Regions from separate parts of the Homo sapiens genome. Here region 2 is linked to region 1. The links are contacts of gene promoters, found by promoter capture Hi-C in blood cells and fetal thymus (Javierre and others, 2016). All regions are on one chromosome and are shown on one strand. Each heading gives the region's core, a stretch centred on a gene start or on the middle of the fragment in contact. The rest is flanking DNA. Distances are from core to core; before and after follow the strand shown. Region 1 holds the start of ZNF418 (zinc finger protein 418). Region 2 holds the start of ZNF543 (zinc finger protein 543).

Evidence for each region. The method cuts DNA at HindIII sites, captures the fragments that hold promoters and counts their contacts. A CHiCAGO score of 5 or more calls a contact.
Region 2: a contact is called between the fragment with the promoter of ZNF543 here and the fragment with the promoter of ZNF418 in region 1, in 4 of 17 cell types (naive B cells, non-activated CD4 T cells, total CD4 T cells and 1 more). The highest score is 9.2, in naive B cells.

The regions. Positions count from the first base shown.
Region 1 is chr19:57,932,326-57,939,508 of GRCh38, reverse strand. It overlaps ZNF418 (zinc finger protein 418), which reads left to right and starts at 4,107. Exons shown (of 6, transcript NM_133460.3): 1 at 4,107-4,348; 2 at 5,607-5,692. The coding sequence starts at 5,687. RefSeq lists enhancers at 4,140-4,229, 3,822-4,704. The HindIII fragment of the contact is 3,111 bases long and covers 1,513-4,623 here.
Region 2 is chr19:57,317,289-57,324,471 of GRCh38, reverse strand. ZNF543 (zinc finger protein 543) reads right to left here and starts at 4,000. Exons shown (of 4, transcript NM_213598.4): 1 at 3,601-4,000; 2 at 664-790. The coding sequence starts at 3,618. It also overlaps the pseudogene LOC100288211. RefSeq lists enhancers at 3,902-4,051, 4,062-4,181, 5,107-5,624 and a silencer at 6,697-6,991. The HindIII fragment of the contact is 3,609 bases long and covers 3,013-6,621 here.

The DNA of each region.
Region 1 (7,183 bases), core at 2,858-5,357:
GTGCGTGCCACCACCCCTGCTAATTTTTGTATTTTTAGAAGAGACGGGGTTTCACCATGTTGGTTAGGGTGTTCTCGAACTCCTGACCTCGTGATCCGCCTGCCTCAGCCTCCCAAAGTGCTGGGATTACAGGCGTGAGCCATCGCGCCTGGCATATTTGTAGTTTTTAGAGGGACCTCAATACTGTTCTCCATAATGGCTGTACTGGTTTGCATTTGCACCACCAGTGCATGAGTTCCCTTTTCTTGTATTTTGTTGGGTTTTTTTTTTTTTTTGAGATGGAGTCTTTCTCTGTCGCCCAGGCTGGAGTGCAGTGGCATGATCTTGGCTCACTGCAACCTCCGTCTCCCGGGTTCAAGCTATTCTCCTGCCTCAGTCTCCTGAGTAGCTGGGATTATAGGCACGCACCACCACGCCTGGCTAATTTTTGCATTTTTAGTAGAGACAGGGTTTCACCACGTTGGTCAGGCAGTCTCGAACTCCTGACCTCGTGATCCACCCAGCTCGGCCTCCCAAAGTGCTGGGATTACAGATGTGAGCCACCGCACCTGGCCATTAGTTCCCTTTTCTCTGCATCCTTGCCAGCGTCTGTTTTTGTCTTTTTGATAATAATTATCCTAAACGGGGAGAGTGATACCTCATTGCGGTTTTGATTTGCATTTCCCAGATAGTGATGAGTGTGTTTTAATATATTTTTGACCGTTTGTATGTTGTCTTTTGAAAAATGCCTATTCAGATCGTTTGACATTTTTAAATTGGATTGTTTGAGGGTTTCTTTGCTGTTGAAATACTTCAGTTGCTTGTGTATTGTATTCTGGCTCTATTTTTTTTTGAGACGGAGTTGCTCTGTTGTCCACGCTGGAGTGCAGTGGCACGATTTCAGCTCACTGCAACCTCTGCCTCCCGGGTTCAAGCAATTCTCCTGCCTCAGCCTCCCGAGTAGCTGGGATTACAGATGTGCGCCACCACACCCACCTAATTTTTGTATTTTTAGTAGAGACGGGTTTTTGCCATGTTGGCTAGGCTGGTCTCAAACTCCTGACCTCAAGTGATCTGCCCACCTTAGGCTCCCAAAGTGCTGGGATTGCAGGCATGGCCACTGCATCTGGCCTCTTTCTTGATTCTTGATTACACTGTCACTGAGTGGGTTCTACATCAGAAAAAGATGAATAGGCCAGGTGTAGTGGCCGAATCCTATAATGCCAGCACTTAGGGAGGCCGAGGCAGGAGGATTGCTTGAACTCAGGAGTTTGATACCAGCCTGGGCAACATGGCAAAACCACATCTCTCAAAAATTAGCTGGTTGTGGTGGTGCATGCCTATAGTCCCAATTACTCCTGAATGCTGAGATGGGAGGATCACTTGAGCCTGAGAGGTTGAGACTGCAGTTGAGCCTTGATCATGCCACTGCGCTTCAGCCTTGGCAACAGAGTGAGACGCTGTCTCAAAAAGGGGAGAAAAAAATAGAATGTGGAGATAAGCAGATTTCAAATGTGAAGTGAAAAAGAAGCTTTTCATTGTTCAAACCATATTGCTAAGTGAGAAAAAGTACAGATGTGTATAGAATCTATGACTTTTTTCCTATAAGATGAAAAACTTGTAACATAATTGACACACAGAATAATGAAGAAAGGGAGACACAATTCTATGAGGATAATACTATACTGCAGATTTCACCTTCTGTTTTTACTTATTCATTAAATTATTTATTTGGAGACAGAGTCTTGCTCTGCTGCCCAGGCTGGCCTCAAACTCCTTTGCAGAAGTGATCCTCCCTCTAAGCCTCCCAAGTAGGTAGGTGAACAGGCACAATTTTTCTCCACCTTGGTATTGTTCAATGTTTTTAATAAAGAAAAAAAAATCTCAATGACAAAACCAACAAGGGGGACATTTTTAATCACATGCTGACCTTAATTCCATCTCTTCGTAGACATCACTGTTAAAACTTCTGGGCCGGGCGAGGTGGCTCACACCTGTAGTCCCAGCACTTTGGGAGGCCACCTCGGGTGGATCACCTGAGGTGAGGAGTTTGCGGCCAGCCTGGCCAAAATGGTGAAACCTTGTGTCTACTGAAAATACAAAAATTAGCTGAGTGTGGTGGCAGGCACCTGTAATCCCAGCTACTTGGGAGGCTGAGGCAGGAGAATGAATTGCTTGACCCAGGAGGAGGAGGTTGCAGTGAGCTGAAACTGTGCCATTGTACTCCAGCCTGGACAACAAGAGTGAAACTCCTTCTCAAAACAAACAAACAAACAAACAAACACCTGTAAAGTCAGCTGGGAGCAGTGACTTATGCCTGTAATGTCAGCATTGTGGGAGAAGGAGGCAGGCAGGTCAGAGGTCAAGAGTTTGAGACCAGTCTGGCCAACATGGTGAAACCTTGTCTCTACTAAAAATACAAAAATTAGCTGGGCGTGGTGGCAGGCATCTGTTATCCCAGCTACTTGGGAGACTGAGGCAGGAGAATCGCTTGAACCCGGGAGGTGGAGGTTGCAGTGAGCCAAGATGGCGCCACTGCACTCCAGTCTGGGACAGAACGAGACTTTGTCTCAAAAAAAAAAAAAAAAAAAAAGAAAGAAAAACTTCTGTGAAGTGTAAATTTTTTTCACCATCCACTCATGTTTCAATTGACCTATTTCTGTCATCGCAGTTATTAGATAGTCGTTGGTAATAAGTTTCTGTAACTGGCATTTCACCTGTTTTTCTGGTATCATATTAGTTCCTCATGCAGAACACTCCCCGCTGTCACAAGAGAAACAAATGATAATCACTTCCCAGGAAAGATAACAAGCTCGATAATTTAACATACGCCTAGTGTCTCCAGGTGGAGATTATCACCACCATTACCAATACCAAGCTGAGATTTCTCTTTCATTGTTCTTTACCTGAGACTGACTTCAAGTTCCTAAAATGAGTTGAAAATATAAGTTAGAATACCAAGTAAGGGATATTACATGAATAAATGTTTTGCTGAATGAATTGGACACAATAATTGACTATATAAGCAGGAGAGTTGTTTTTCCATGGGAACGACTGATTGACCTTTGTACTCTTTCTTTAGCCTCTCCTCTATCTTCCTTGGCATGGTCCTATCTGGATTAGTTCTCTTTTGTCCCTGGCAGACTGAAAAACCAACTCTAATGCCTCAGAGTGAGGCAGGAGAATAGGGAATTAGGGTAACCAAGAATGAAGGCATAAGCAAAAGAACAGCAGGTGCAGCTAGTTCTAGGCAAGATGAGGCAGCACACAGGCCACGTCCTCACTCCTGTGGTAACAAGACAGAAGTCTCCACTTCAGCCTCTGATTGGTTGTGCACCAGTCCTTCATAGGATTGGAGGCCTTTAAAGAACTCTTGGGGTATTATAAAATTCTAGCTTATTCATGGCAAAAACCGCAATTACTTTTGCACCAACCTAATAAAACCCTAAAAAACATTGTAATCGGGGTTCTTGAGCCGCTTGGTCGCCTGCTCCCACACCTACATTCCACTTCTGTGGAGTGTACTTTCCCCTCAATAAATCTGCGCTTTCATTGGTCCGTTCTTTCGTTGCTTTTTTTGTGTGTTTTGTTCACTTCTTTGTTCAATGCGCCAACAACTGGACAACTCACAGCCAAGACATTCTATCCGGTAACAAGAGTGCATTCATGTGAATTATAACAGAGTAATGTTTATCAGCCTCTGCTTCCAGTGCAAGCATTCTGTGTCTAAACGATTGTATAAAGTGATACACGAATTTGGATTTGTAGCCTTTGGGGGCCTTCACAGTATTTTTAGCGCCTGGGAGCTTGAATTTACAGAAATGTGAATTAATATTTTTGCAAACACTTAGGTGGTCAGTTACAAACAGGGATTCCCCAGGAATCTCAATATGGCCTCTAAGGAGGGGCGAGACCATCCTCTGCCCTAAAAGGGTACGCGCTTTAATGAACCCCCTGAGGTAGGGCTGGGACTTCCCTGCAGAAGCGCCTTTGGGAAGCGGCAGCTTTACTACCTTGGAACCTGGGGAACTACATTACCCAGAAAGCTCTACATTGAATGACAGCGCAACAGAACCAGTAAGGGCTCAGAATAAAGGCGTTTCTGTGTGCGCACGTAACGTAGTGGCGGGATTCTCAGCGTTCTCTGGTAGCGACCATTTTGGTTAATGTTGGGTGTGTTTCTGCGGTTTGTGAGGTGAGAGGCGCTGGAGCTATGGGTCCGAACCGCGGTGTCTGAACCCAGAAGGTGAAGAGTCCTTCTTGCTGCACAGAGGCAGATCTTAGGCCCCGTAACGGCGCCCGCCGCTCCCGGCAGTGCTTTCCCCGCGTACTCGGGATGGCGGCGGCCGCGCTGAGGCTCCCGGCTCAGGTAATTGTGCCTTCCCTGCCCTCAGGTCACCTCATCCTAACCCGAATCCTGAAGCAGCGAGAGAGCGGCGACTGTTCACAGGTCTGCAGCCCGGACCCGGCGTCGGGACACTGAGGCGTTCGCGGGAGAGGTCCTTGTTTCTGACACCTGTGGGATGCGGTGGGGAGAGCGACAGGCACAGGGACCGGCGCGGGCTATGGCCTGGAGGACAGACCCGGGAGGATGGAACCTGGGGTCCACAGGCGCCTGTAGGGAACAACGTGTGAGGCGAAGCTTCTCCTGGAAGAGCAGGCTGGGGGCTGTGTATTCGCTGTGAAGACGCTAGAAGCCATGGAGAGTTTCGAAGAAAGGAGGGATGCGATCCAAGTCCAGGCTTTTAAGGTTTCCCAAAGGCCAAAGGAAGAACATAGTAGAGGAGATGAGGACCTTAGGGTTCTGGGAGGTTGACTCCTTTGTTGATAGATCACATAGGTGGTAGAGATGACATTTTGCACTGAGACACGCAGGTCAACCAGTCTGAGGTCACCTGGCTCCAGCGATAAGAAAAGGTTCAAGGAGACCTGAGCTTATCAGATCCCCTTTGTAACGTCTGCTTTCCCCTCAGACACTCCTGGCTACAAAAGCACGTAAAGAACCCACTGAGGGGGTCGGGCAAGGTGGCTCCCACCTGTAATCCCAGCACTTTGGGAGGCCGAGGCGGGCGGATCACCTGAGGTCGGGAGTTCGAGACCAGCCTGACCAACATGGAGAAACCCCGTCTCTAACAAAAATACAAAATTAGCCAGGCGTGGTGATGCCGCATGACTGTAATCCCAGCTACTCAGAGGCTAAGGCAGGAGAATTGCTTGAACTCGGGAGGCAGAGGTTGCGGTGAGCCATTGCACTCCGGCCTGGGCAACAAGAGCGAAACTCTGGCTCAAAAAAAGGAACCCACAGAGGGAATTAGAGGGTGTTCCATTCCCTCACTGGCCTTATTCCCCATTCACATGTTCTCTAGCTTGTGATGTCCTGGGACTCTTACTTGCCATTTTTTCAGTCCTTTGATCTGAGAACACTGGAGAAACCCTAAACCCAGAATCCTAAGTCCATGACACAGGATGTATGGAGGTATTCCCATTTCTGTCAACCCATGTAAACATACTTTGAAGGTTAACTACAGAGTTGGTACCAGGTCATGAAATGCTTAGAGGTAAAAATTCGGTGGGGAGGCAAGAGGGCGGCGAGGAGGTGATGTTACCACAGTCCCATTTGTCTGCAGGCATCATCTGGCTGCAAAGAAGAGAACACACTGTGTTTGAGGGAGGAGGAAGGAGGATCAGAGTTTAAACTCCTGCCATAATGCAGGTGAGGGTTACTGGACCATATTAATGAGTAAGGAGCTGTGGCTGGATTCAAGATTCACAGTTTGTAAAATGGCAACTAGATTTTCCTTTTTTTTTTGAGCGGGAGTCTCGCTCTATCGCCCAGGCTGGAGTGCAGTGGCACGATCTTGGCTCATTGCAAGCTCTGCCTCCCGGGTTCACGCCATTCTCCTGCCTCAACCTCCCGAGTAGCTGGGACTACAGGCGCCCGTCACCATGCTCAGCTAATTTTTTGGATTTTTTAGTAGAGACGGTTTCACTGTGTTAGCCAGGATAGTCTCAATCTCCTGACCTCGTGATCCATCGGCCTCGGCCTCCCAAAGTGCTGGGATTACAGGCATGAGCCACCAAGCCCGGCCATGCCCGGCTAATTTTTAATATTTTTAGTAGAGATGGGGTTTCACCGTGTTAGCCAGATGGTCTTGATCTCCTGACCTCGTGATCTACCCGTCTCGGCCTCCCAAAGTGCTGGGATTACAGGCGTGAGCCACCAAGCCCGGTCGGTAACTAGATTTTCTAATAGACTGTGAGGGCATGAAAGGGGAATCAGGTATGACCACCAGGTTTTTGGTCTTAGCATCTGCAGTGATGGAAGCTGCATCAACTGAGATGAGCACATAGTAGGTATAATATTCATTGGGGATGTGAAGAATGTTGTTTTGACCATGTTAAGAGTCTGAGATAGTTTAGCCTCCATTATGACATTGACACACTTCAAATTTTCATGGTAAATCTTTTGTGGGGGCCAGGAAGGGGTGGTTGCAGGCTGAGGGCTGAATTTCTTGCTTGGGTCCCTGGCTGACATTGCCACAGGAGAAGGAGGCAAGGGCTCATGAAGATAGGGTATGTCAGACAACATGGTTTGTCAGGGGGCATAGGCTTTCCAAGGGTAGAATAGATAAGAGATGTAAGCAGAAGCATAGAAATAATTGAAGGAAGATGACACTTGGGCCAAGGCTGGTACTTATTCACCACTCTGTGGACTCACCAAGATTTTGAGAAAACTTTGTTGGTGCTTGGGGGTTTTCATTCGGCCTGGTGGATACATGCTCAGGGTAAATTTGGTTATCTGTGACAGACATTGGGCCTGGGGTGGACAGCTGATGGGCTGGGATTTTATTTATTTTTTTCTTTTGTTTTCCACTTTTCTTAGACCATTCTCCATAACAAGGGAGTGGGATTTAAATGACTCTAGGTGGACAGAGGAAAGTCGTCATTGTAGAGGGGTCACCAAGTGCAACACAGAAGTGGAATAGGGCCATGGATATCTAAAGCCCCACCTGGTTCTGTGGGGATGTGGAGCCATGCAAGAAGGCCTTCATAGAATGACTTGGGACTGCATTGCTATTGGGAGCCATGAGAATTCTGTGGTAATATTGGATCCTGTTTGAATTTGCCAAGCATACTCTGAATTCTGTCAGCCACATTGTGGCATAAGGCCGAAAATGAAAGGCCAATGTGATGTGCAACGTTG
Region 2 (7,183 bases), core at 2,751-5,250, 610 kb after region 1:
GGTCACAATTGCTAACCTGCGCCCAGCCACCTATCACAACACACTCTACTGAACCATTTGCCCTCACACTAGCCCTATGAAACAAATACTATATTGGCCTTTTTTTTTTTTTTTTTTCAGACGGAGTCTCTCTCACACTGTCGCCTGGGCTGGAGTGTAGTGATGAGATCTCAGCTCACTGCAACTTCCGCCTCCCGGGTTCAAGTGATTCTCCTGCCTCAGCCTCCTGAGTAGCTGGGATTACAGGCACCCGCCATCACACCCGGCTAATTTTTTGTATTTTTAGTAGAGACGGGATTTCACCATGTTGCCCAGGCTTGTCTCAAACTCCTGACCTCCTGATTTGTCCGCGTCGGCCTCCCAAAGTGCTGGGATTACAGACATGAGCCACTGTGCCTGGCCTGGCCCTTTTTATTCATGAGAAAAACTGAGGCACAGAGGGATTCCTTAACTTGCCCAGGAACACAGGGATCATGAGCAGTGGAGATGGGAGTGGACTCCTGGACACCAGACCCTGGTCTCCCAAGTGCTACGCTCAGAGCCAATGGTGAACACCCCTGCGTGGTGCCAGGAGCCTCAGAACAAGTGGGCTGTGGAGGAGAGAGGGGAACATGAGTAGGAGAACTCAATCCTAAGGGAGCACAGGACCAGAAGGGGCCTTACCCAGAGACATGAGAAGTCCGCAGGTCTCCAGCATCACCTCCTGATACAAGGTTCTCTGGGCTGCATCCAACTGTCCCCACTCCTCCTGGGTGAATGTCACAGCCACATCCTCAAAGGTCACAGACACCTGGAAAATTAAACAGAGATAGTAGTGTTTCCCTTGGAACTGTGGAATACAACTAGAACTTGTCACTTCAGCACTGCAAAAGATGCGCAGTGACCCAAGAATCAAATCACCAAGCATCTCTAGAGGGCCATGATCTGTGCCAGGCATGAGGGGAATGTGGACATTGCCTTGGATAAATTACAGCAGTGTCGGTCAGGCGCGGTGGCTCACGCCTGTAATCCCAGCACTTTGGGGGGCCATGAAGGGCAGATCACGAGGTCAGGAGATCGAGACCATCCTGGCTAACATGGTGAAACCCCGTCTCTGCTAAAAATACAAAAAAATTAGCCGGGCGCGGTGGCGGGCGCCTGTATTCCCAGCTACTCGGGAGGCTGAGGCAGGAGAATGGCGTGAACCCGGGAGGCGGAGCTTGCAGTGAGCCGAGATCGTGCCACTGTACTCCAGCCTGGGTGACAGAGCGAGACTCGTCTCAAAAAAAAAAAAAAAAATTACAGCAGTGAAGAGAGAGAAGCCTCCTATGCAGAAAGCCACTTCACACAGAAATAAGGTTAGGACAATCCTAAGGGGACTGAGAGGCAAGACAGTAAGTGCTCTGAGACATCAGAGGAATGGGAAAGAATAATAACAAAAACAACACCAGCAACAACAACAAGAACAGCACCTGAGTCTTACCGATCCTCCCTGTGAGCCTGCCTCATGCTAATGGCTTTACATGCCATGGTAAAGTGACTAAAAGTCCCCAGCTCAGGAGTCAGACTCCTGAGGTTTAAAACCAAATTCCTGAAATCAACACAAGCCTGCTATGTGACCTTGGAAATCTCATTTCATTTATCTGAGCCCTGATGTCCAGGTCAACACAACAGGGTTTTCCACTTCACCAAGAATAGTCAAAAGATCTGAAGAAAAGCTGTAAAGGAAACACTGGGGCAAAGGGCCACAGCTCCTGAGTTCACCATCATCATCTCCATGTCACACTCAGAGACTTGAGGTCCAGGACCTCCACTAGTCTACCCAAAGTCACATCTCTTATCAGGAGAGACAGAATTTGAACCCAGGGCCCTATGGTCTATGTTCTAATCATGCAACCCGACACTCCTTCATTAGCAAAGTTAATGCACAGTTAATGAGGATGGGAAACATTGAAATACATCCATTTGAGCCACCCTGAAAATATTTTCAGGATTTTTTTTTTTTTTTTTGAGACAGGGTCTCAATATTTTGCCCAGGTTGGGCTTGAACTCATGATCCTCCTGCCTTAGCCTCCCAAGCTGGATATACAGACACATGCCACTGTGCTGGGGTTAGCCACTTGAAATATTTTCATGGACCTGGGCAGAGCAGCATAGTCATAATCACCTACCTCACAGAAGAGTCACCTGAGGTGGTGGCACCTGCCTCAAAAGTGGCAGGGCCTGGACCTGCATCTGCTGCCTCGGACACTTCTGGGCCTCACAGATGCCCATTCTCATAGGAAGAATCCACAACGAGCTATCACTACCTTTTCCTGTTTGAGTCCTACCAACAAGTATCCCTGAGGTCAGGATACTTCAGGAGCAAGGAACAAGAGTCACAGAGGACACAGCAGGTTGTAGCCATGAGAACATGGGCCCCTGACTGGCTATGTCTGTCCTGGCTAAGGAGGAAGGCACATCTAGCAAAAGACCACAAAATCTTGTGTCCCAAGACATGTGTCAGCTGGTATAGGAGAAAACCACTCAGGAAACCACTGTGGAAGCCACACGGGTCCCCTGCGGACTCCTTAAACAACCAATAAACCATTTTTTTTTAGTCCACACAGTTCCACCAGCATGAAATGCCATGACTCCTCATGTCCAAGACCACCTGCTAGAAGGAAGCCTGCTCAACTTGCAAAGTTTACTTTAGGTGTCACCCCCAGGCCTCCCTAACCATTGCGGGCAAAGAAGAGGGTAAAAACACAGGCTGTGATGGTAGACACACCAGTTGTTAGTTTCTGATACTTAAGAGCTACAGTGATGTAAGGCAGGTAATTGAACCTATGTGAGCCTCCAGCTGCTCTTGTGTAAAACAGTGAGGACAAGAGAACCTAATTCTAAGGAGTTCAGGATTAAAGGAGCTGAGGGTTAAATAATGCCTGCCAATCAGCCCACAGCAAGGACTCTTTATGATCAGCTGTCACTCTTTGCAATTATTTCGTTTCTCTTTGTTCACATAACATCCTAGACCAACTCAAACGGCAAGCTTCTTTAATATCGTCAGATTCTCTATACAAAAATGCCACACATTGCCAAAAATGGGCAAGTGCGTAAGGCGCCACTTTAGCCGGAATTGCCAAGAAAGCCACCTCCAAATAGGTGACATCTGGACAGAGGCCAGAAAGATATGAGAGGGAGGCCCTGCGAAGTTATAGGGGCAGTGTTCAAGGCAAAGGGAAGTGCAAAGAGAAAGCCTGGAAAAAGGAAGAAGACTGCACGGTCAGGTTGGTGGCTCTGAAGAGCAAAGGACAAGGGAAAAATGGAGAGACAAGGTCAGGGGTGGTTGGCCAGGTGGATGGGGTAGGGGCTGGCAGGCAACAGAGGAGGTTGGATTTAAGGGAAGTGTGATGAGATCCATGAAGGAAGCATCATTCATCCTTCTACCAAGGACTGAGCACCTGTCGGAGGCCAACACTATTGCAGGACTGCGGATAAAGGAAATGACAAGCTACGGCCACTTCTCTTAAATAAACGACGGCGACAAAGAAACATCCTGTGGCTGTCTTGGCTTCTGCCTGCCCACGAGGCCTCCAGAAGTAGCAGAGCAGCAGCAAGGCCAAAACCTCGTCCACTCACCTGCGCCGAGGCTGCCATCCTGAGACCCTGCAGCCCTAGCGGGGCCCGGGAATGCCGCGGCTCAGCCGACCCCCAGCCCTTCTCTGTCCTGGGCGGGGCGACCTCGGCTGACTTTCGCACTCGGAGCCTCAGTTTCCCCAGAGAAAAATGCGCACAAAGCGGGCGCAGCGTCGGGGCTGAGGAGACGGAGGGCGGCTGCGGAGGCCTAGGCCTCGGCAGGCGCCGGTGGAACACCCCGTTAGGGAAGAAGCGGGGCGTCAGGCTCCCGCCAAGATGCGGAGAAGGCGCGTAACAGCCTCATTACCCTCCCCTGCTCAGGCCGCTGGACGCGCCTACCCAGCGGTCCAGGCCCCACACTGTTCCAGGGCCAATCCTGCTCACGGAGATGACGTCACGCGACGAAGCGGAAGTCCCACCTCCGCCGCCCTGGCCCGCAGAAATCGCCCGTGTCCTGGCCCGTCATTGGCCTAGAGTCCGCGGCCGACGCAAGGGGTGGTGCCTTCTGAGTAAGGCAGTTTTTCCCTCACATCTACCGGGTGTGGGAACTCACCAAGCGCAGCCGACTCCATTTAAGTGCGCACAAGGACCCCCGCGTCGTCTTAGGGCCGCCGCTTTACTATGGGCACAAGTCGGAGGGTCGAAAGGTCCTTTCTAGCTTAGGAAAATTGAGGTCAGGAGGCGGGGATATTCGCCCCGATTGAGATCATGGGCTGGGCCCAGAGCTTCTGGCTCACTTCCCTTATTTTAGGGAGGTAGCTCATATATGTAATCTCAGTGCTTTGGGATGCCAACACAAAATAATTGCTGAGGTCAGGAGTTTGAGACCACCCTGGGCAATATAGTAAGATGTTATATCTACCAAAAAAAAAAAAAAGAGCAAGGCATGATGGTGTACACCTGTAGTCCTAGACACTGGGAGGCTGAAGCAAGAGGATTGCTTGAGCCCAGGAATTTGAGGTTATAATGAGATATGATGAGAGAAAACACACACACATAAACACACTGAGATGCCATCTTATACTGGTCAGAGTGGCTATTATTAAAAAGTAAAAAACCAACAGATGTTGGTATGGATGCAAGGAAAAGGGAACGCTTATATGCTATTGGTGGGAATGTAAATTAGTACAACCTCTATGGAAAACAGTATGGAGATTTATCAAAGAACTGAAAATAGAACTGCCATTTGATCTGGCAATTCCACTATTGGGTATTTACTTAAAGGAAAATAAACCACTATATCAAAAAGATGCCTGTACTTACATGCTTACTGTAGCACTATTCACAGTAGCAAAGTCATAGAATCAACCTAAGTGTCCATCGACAGATGATTGGATAAAGAAAATGCGATATATATATGTATATATATGTATGTATATGTATATATGTATATATATGTATGTATATGTATATATGTATGTATATGTATATATATGTATATATGTATGTATATGTATATATATGTATATATGTATGTATATGTATATATATGTGTATATATGTATGTATATGTATATATATGTATATATATGTATGTATATGTATATATATGTATGTATATGTATATATATGTATATATATGTATGTATATGTATATATATGTATATATATGTATGTATATGTATATATGTATATATGTATGTATATGTATATATATGTATATATATGTATGTATATGTATATATGTGTATATATATATACACTCCATGGAATACTACTCAGTCATTAAAAAAAATCATGGCTTTTGCAGCAATATGGCTGGAACTGGGGGGCCATTCTCTTAAGTGAAATAATTCAGAAACAAAGTCAAATACTGCATGTTATCACTTATAAGTGGTAGCTAAATGATGTATACATATGGAAATAGTGGAATAATAGACACTGGAGATTCAAAAAGGTGGGAGGCATTGCCGGGGACCCCTCACACCATGGTGCTTCACTCACCTACACCACAGCCATGCCACCCCATTGGCACACACTTGCAGGTAGCCCCCCTCTACTGCCCAAGTGGTGCACACTTGCCTGTGGCCTCCCCATCCCCCAGCCACAGTGCACTCTCTGCAGTCCCCACAATGCTCTGCTGGAGCACTTTTGCCAGCAGACTGAGAACACCTCAGCCCCTCTAGCACAGCAGGTGCTTCACCCCAAGCAGCCAGAGAACAAAGCCAAGGGCTTAATCCCCTCTACCCAGGTTTACAGCATGCAGCTCAGGAGTGCTCAGCTGAGCCTTGGCCTGTGAAAGCACCCATAATTGAAACCATGAAACTAAACCCAACTTATACCACAGTAAAACTCCCAAGGGCATCAAATAATATAAAAGCAGAAAGCCCCATCCAAAGGAGAGCAACTTCAAAGATTCAAGGAACATCAGCCCACACATATGAGAAAGAACCAGTGCAAGATTTCTGGCAACTCTAAAGGTCTCCAAACGACTGCACTAGCTCCCTAGTGATGGTTTGGAACCATGCTTAAATGGCTGAAATGACTTAGAATTCAGAGTCTGGATGGCAAGGAAGGAAAAATCCAAGGAAACCAATAATGCAATCCAAGAGTTTAAATATAATATTACCATATTAACAAAGAACCAAAATGGGCTGGGCACGGTGGCTCACGTCTGTAATCCCAGCACTTTGGGAGGCTGATGCGGGTGGATCACTTGAGGTCAGGAGTTCGAAACCAGCCTGACCAACATGGTGAAACCCTATCTCTACTATAAATACAGAAATTAGCTGGGTGTGCTGGCAGGCACCTGTAATCCCAGCTACTCGGGAGGCTGAGGCACAAGAGTCCCTTGGATCCAGGAGATGGAGGTTGCAGTGAGCCAAGATCATGCCATTGCACTCCAGCCTGTGCAACAGAGCAAGACTCCGTCTCAAAAAAAAAAAAAAAAAAAAAAAAAGAAAGAAAAAAAAGAAAGAAAAGAAAAAGAGTCATCAAACTGAACTTCTGGAAATAAGAAATTAACTACAGCAATTGCAATTTCATAATGTAACTGGAAGCGCTAACAACAGAATAGACCAAGCTTAGAAAATAGTCTCAGAGCTCAGTTTTTCCCCATGTGTCTGCCGCCTAGGGGAGGTGCCTCATCCGGAGCGGGCCGCCAGCTGTCCGGCCCTGTCCGCACAGAGGCTCCTGTCGTTGGCGCCCGGGAGTGGCTTGGCTGCCCGATGCTTCTGCCCCGGCTGCCACGGGCAGGGCTGTACGCTTAGTGCCCGGCTCAGGCCCCTTGAAGCGCCCGCGGGGGTGGGAGCGGCCTCCGGCCCCGCGGAGACCGAGCGGCTTGAGGACTAGGCGGCGGCCGCGGGGAGGAGGATGGGGGCTAACCAGTTAGTGGTGCTCAACGTGTGTGACATGTATTGGATGAAGGAATATACCTCATCCATTGGAATTGGAGTTTTTCATTCAGAAATTGAAGTCTATGGCAGAGAATTTGCTTATGGTGGCCATCCTTACCCCTTTTCTGGAATATTTGAAATTTCCCCAGGAAATGCTTCTGAACTAGGAGAACCATTTAAATTTAAAGAAGTTGTTTTAGGGAGCACGGACTTCCTAGAAGATGATATAGAAAAAATTGTAGAAGAACTGG